Linked DNA regions of Homo sapiens: region 2 is linked to region 1. Evidence: promoter capture Hi-C in 16 types of primary human blood cells and fetal thymus (Javierre and others, 2016). All regions are on one chromosome and are shown on one strand. The core of a region is centred on a gene start or on the middle of the fragment in contact, and the rest is flanking DNA. Distances in the headings are between cores, read along the strand shown. Region 1 holds the start of PRAM1 (PML-RARA regulated adaptor molecule 1). Region 2 overlaps ADAMTS10 (ADAM metallopeptidase with thrombospondin type 1 motif 10).

Region 1 (2,700 bases), core at 73-2,572:
TCCTGCCTCAGCCTCCCAAAGTGTTAGGATTACAGGCGTGAGCCACCGTGCGTGGCCCAGGTGCAAGGCCTTTGACACCACTCACCCACCGACCCCCAAATCTGCTGTACCAGCTAAGCTTTCTGCCCAGGGCGGCAGCCTGGGACATCCATGGCCTGTGATATCTGCCCCAGAACAAGTGAGTCCTGCTCAGAGCCGGGAATTGGATTTCATGGAAGTGTTGAAATGAGGAAGGCGGATGAGCCAACCAGGGCAGACAGCAGAGGCCTCACCCGGTCACATGGGCCCCCACGTCCTGGGCCTCTGGGCCTCCCCAGGAGCCTCCTAAACCCCAGAGCTGTCCGTACCCCTGATCTGCTGAGATCTCCCCATCCTGTGGCTCTCTAGCCCAGGAGGTCACCAGGGCCTGGCATGGAGTCCTCCCTGGAGTCCAGAGATGGGGACACCAAAGTAGTAGGAATGATGGGGACTATAGAGAGTAAGAAACTAGTTGGCCAGGCGTGGTTGCTCACGCCTGTAGTCCCAGCACTTTGGGAGGCCGAGGCGGGCAGATCATCTGAGGTTGGGAGTTTGAGACCAGCCTGACCAACATGGTGAAACCCCGTCTCTACTAAAAATACAAAAAATTAGCCGGCAGTGGTGGCACATGCATGTAATTCCAGCTACTCAGGAGACTGAGGCAGGACAATCGCTTGAACCTGGGAGGCGGAGGTTGCAGTGAGTCGAGATTGCGCCACTACACTCCAGCCTGGGCAACAAAGTGATACCCCGTCTCAAAAAAAAAAAAAAAAAAAAAAAAAAGAAAGAAACTAGTGACCATGTTAGGAACATGCGGGCAACCAGTGCCCCAAGCTTGGGACAGTAGCAGGCAGGACAGGAATTCAAGCGAAATAGAAGTGCCCAGCAGGGGCCGGGGCAGTGGCTCACACCTGTAATCCCAGCACTTTGGTAGGCCGAGGCGGACCGATCCCTTGAGGTCAGGAGTTTGAGACCAGCCTGCCCAACATGGTGAAACCCCTTCTCTACTAAAGATACGAAAAGTAGCCAGGAGCGGTGGTGCGCGCCTGTAATCCCAGCTACTCAGGAGGTTGATGCAAAAGAATTGCCTGAACCCGGGAGGCAGAGGTTGCAGTGAGCCGAGATGGCACCATGGCACTCCAGCCTGGGCGACAGAGCAAGACTCAGTCTCAAAAAAAAAGAAGTGGCTGGCAGGATCTGGAGACGGACTGGAGCCTCCCCACCTCCTTCCCTTCCTCCTCTGCCCTCCCCCGCCCCACCTCTAGCAGCCCCCACCCTGTGTGCTGACCGTGGAGCAGAAGCCACAGTCACTTCCTGAAGGCAGCGGCCCCAGCTCGGGTCCCACTCATCCCATGGCCCATCACCTGCCTGCAGCCATGGTGAGTGCTGGAAGAGGCCTGTGCCTCACTGGCTGGGAAGCAAGGGACACAGATGTTCCCAGAAGGATAGGATCCACCTGTGGAGGGGCGGGCGGGGGGGCGGGGGGTGGCTGCGAAAGACATCTGGGAAACGGGAAGGGTCGGCAAAAAGGACCCGAGGTAGGCGGCCACCAGGCACACCCCAGGACAGCGCGGGCTCCTGGGGGTTCACGCTCAGGTTGGGACTGCGAGGGGGACAGATGGGACTCCCCGGGGGGACAACTCCCGTCTCCCCAGGTCAACATGAGCAGCCATGTGGGAACGGGCTGCTGGGGTGAGAGCAGTGCTTTCCTGCGGGGTGACAAAGTGGGTCATGACCCTCCCCCGTCCAGTCACCCAAGTTGTGACCTGCTAACCCTGACTTATCTAGCCCTGTGGTCGCCCGGGAGCACTTCCTTCAAACCACTCGGGGCTTTGACAGGGGCACTTCAGGCCCCAGGTGGGAATTGCTGCCTTTCCAAGGAGCAATCCTGGTCTCTGGTCCTCTGGATGGGGAAAGTGAGGCACACGCAGGAAGCAAAGGCCACACGTTTCTGCCCTTTCCCTCCCCCAATCTCCTTGACCACAGGTGAAAGGGGCGTTTGTAGGACTAAGGAGGCCTGGCCTTCTTGTGAATCTGCCTACCTCTGTGAGGAGTGGTTGCAGGGCCAGCTAGGAGGGCAGCTGGGACAGCTGGGTATGCAGGAGACAGCGCCTGTGCCCACGGTGTCTGCACCAATCCTCTCAGGCACTGTCAACTGTGAGCATTCCTGACCATCAGCCCGCATGTCAGAGACGGTGTGAGAGGGACCGCATGGCCGTCTCCAGGCATCTCTGTGTTTTCCTGATGGTCAGGCTGAGTACATGGCTGTCTTTGTGCTGCCTGAATATTGTTTATTTCAGCAAATATTTACTGAGCACCTACCATGTTCCAGGCCCTGGGAAGACAGCAATGAATGAGCCAAGTCTCTGCCTTGCAGAGGCTGAGGAACTGAGGGAAGTTGTGGTGTAGAGAGACAAAAAAAAAAAAAAAAAAAAATCAAGACACATTAAAAACAATGTAAAATAGTATAATACGTAGGGGTGGGTACGATGGAGAAAATCATGCATGCTGAATGCAGGGCAGTAGTGGGATGGGGTGATCCATTTAAAATAGGGTGGTCTAGGCCAGGCGTGATGGCTCATGCACTTTGGGAGGCCGAGGTGGGTGGATCACTTGAGGTCAGGAGTTCGAGACCAGCCTGGCCAACATGGTAAAACCCTGTTTCCATTAAAAATACAAAAA
Region 2 (2,700 bases), core at 201-2,700, 92 kb before region 1:
AGGGGGGTGAGGTGAGCCCCCATGGTGACCTGGGAGGACAGAGGTGCATGGAGTGTGCAAAATGTCCTAAGCAATCAGACAGTGCTTGGGAACAAAAATGGGATCACCTGCTTCTCCAGACCCCTGATTTGAGGGCTGGGCTGGGGGGCCAGCTTCTGTCTGGCACATCACACCCCCTGTGGGCTACAGCAGGATCAAAGTCTCAAGACCTCTCACGGGGCAGTTTTTAACTAAACATCCAGTCCTGACGGAAATAATTTCCCTGGGGATGAGCCATCTTTCCTACTTGGCAAAGAACTAGACAGAACCTTCCAGGGACTCCCTGTCTGGAGGAGCTCTGAGCCTCCTGACCTCTCCCCACCCTTTCCTGAGGTTTAGATTCCCAAAGCCCCATTCGTGCATAGAGAAGGGCATTGGGGGGCAGGAGGTTCCACTCCCAGCTCCCCCCAGGAAGCTGAAGACCTGCTGGCTTCCTGCTTCAGCCACCAAGGTTCAGCCAGGATCTGCTCCTCCTCTGCCCACCTGCCTCGATTCCCTAAATGCACCCCTAAGCTCCTCACAGTCTCAGCCCTAGGGGCCCAGGTTCAGCCCCAGTTCTTCACACTATCACAACTCAAACGATCAGAGTTTTTGTGATGCCATGTTAATGCAAAGCAGAGGGCAAGCAGCTGCCAAATTGCCCTCCCTTCATTCCACTGCAAGACAGAGACAAACCCTGGAACAATTTCTATTTCACTGACATTCCACCCTTGACACCCCCCAACATCCTAACTTAGCTGGTAACTGCAGCACCCTCTAAGGAATTCCTAAAGAATTCTGAAGCTACTCCTCAACATCTGCTGTGACCCAGGTATCCTAACAATGATCATGGTGTCTGACATTTACTGAGCTCTCACTATGGGCTAAGCATGTGCTGTGTGTCACCATCTAAACTCCTGACAATCCTGCTAGCCCCCACGTTACAGAGGAAGGGACTGAGCCATAGCATAGGGAGGATGACTTGTCCAAGGCCACAGTTTGAGACCATGACAGAGCTGGGATTTAAATCCAGGTCTCTCATGACTCTCTAAATTTTACAAAGGGGCAGGGGAGGGGAGGAGCTGTCAAAATATCAAGCTTGGGCTGGCACTGGCTATATGTTGAATTGAGCCTTCCTTTTAGTTTTTGAAGGAACATCTTTCAGGCCATCTTGGCAAAGGGGGATTTATTTACTAAATGTGAACTGGTTAATATATGTAAAGGGTTCAGCCTGGTGCCTGGTCCAGAGATAGTGGTGGTCATTGTTACCCCATAATGGCATTGGTGCAAGTCCTTTCTTATCTATCCTGTCACGTGCCTCATAGCCATTTATATAGGCAAGACAGGCATTAGGCTGCCCATCTTGTAGATGAGTAAACTGAGGCCCAGAGAGGGGAAATATATTGCAAGTTGGTAGCAGAATTGAGGTCTCTGCACAACTCAAATATGCCACAGTGCCTCCTTGTGGAGAGGAGGACAAAAGCAGAGCTGAAATCATTATCTTGAAGAGGTGTCAGAAGTGGGATTGCGACAGGACTGATGTGATATTTTTAGATATGGCCAAGAGGACACAGTCTGAGTTTTTAGCTGAGAAATGTCCTCTATAAGGCAGAAGGCAGAGATTCTAGAGGACCTTTGAGGGAGAATGTATTTGAGAACAACTCTTCCAGCTTCTTACATATGTACAGGTATCTCTCAGGGGCTGACCTAGGAAGGGTCCTTTCCTGTGGCCATTGATCGATCCAGTCCCACATCTGGAAAGCTTACAAGAATTGGGTTCAAAGCGGGGATTACACTTGATAATTACAGAAGGACCACCTACTTCTTAGAGGAAAGACGCTGGGAGGTTGCTTAGGATGTGGGCCAAGAGGGTCAGAGAGGACCACCTACTTTTTAGAGGAAAGACGCTGGGAGGTTGCTTAGGATGTGGGCCAAGAGGGTCAGAGATTTTGCTTCACCTGAACTCACTGGGGCTTCTCCAGGGATATTAACCTGGACTTTAAGAGTCAGAGTGAGTCCCTGGGACTAGTTCAGCCCATCCAGGATTCAGACGGGAAGAAGGTGGGGCTGATTTTTCACCTGGAGAAAGAGAGGCATGTCCCACACAGACCTAACTCGGCATTGTCCCCTCCCAAACTCCCACCCCTCCACATAGCTTAAAAGTGTTGGGGGCTTCTCCAGTTTAGATGGGGGAACAAAGAGAACCAACAGCTGGAAAAAACTAGAGATGAGGCCGTTGGCCTAGTCATCATCCAGGCCGATTTCTCAGAACCACCACTTTCTCTTCGGCTACTTTGCCCATCCCATAAAAGAACCCCAAATCCTTCCTGTTCATTCCTCAGCAGTTCCCACGTTTCCTTCCAGAAACTCAGAAGGCACCAGGAACTGAATTGCAAAGTTCGTTAGAGCACAGACTCTGAATTAAAGAGCTGGGTTAAACTCCAGGCTATTCCCTTAGTAGCTGTGTGACCTTACCTGTCTGAAGCTTGGTTTTCTCCCAGTAAGATGGGGTAGTACTGCCTAAAGAGGTATATGGCATGTATAAAGTGCTCCATAAATGGAGCTTATTGGGAGAGTATAAGTCACAGGCCATGCCCCGCAAGGGGATGCACGAAGACCCACCGCGAGCCAGGAAGGGAGCACCGGGCTCTCTGCTCTGGGACCGGCAGTGAGCCGGACATC

The links. Contacts are between HindIII fragments. The CHiCAGO score rates a contact against its expected background, and 5 or more counts as called.
Region 2: a fragment that was not itself captured here is called in contact with the fragment with the promoter of PRAM1 in region 1 in 1 of 17 cell types (non-activated CD4 T cells); the score reaches 5.4 in non-activated CD4 T cells.

The regions. Positions count from the first base shown.
Region 1 is chr19:8,501,262-8,503,961 of GRCh38, reverse strand. It overlaps PRAM1 (PML-RARA regulated adaptor molecule 1), which reads left to right and starts at 1,322. Exons shown (of 10, transcript NM_032152.5): 1 at 1,322-1,397. The coding sequence starts at 1,371. The HindIII fragment of the contact is 16,783 bases long and covers 855-2,700 here.
Region 2 is chr19:8,592,949-8,595,648 of GRCh38, reverse strand. The region is part of intron 12 of ADAMTS10 (ADAM metallopeptidase with thrombospondin type 1 motif 10); the gene reads left to right. Among named protein-coding and RNA genes, the nearest start is that of ADAMTS10, 16 kb to the left of the region's middle. The HindIII fragment of the contact is 664 bases long and covers 1,119-1,782 here.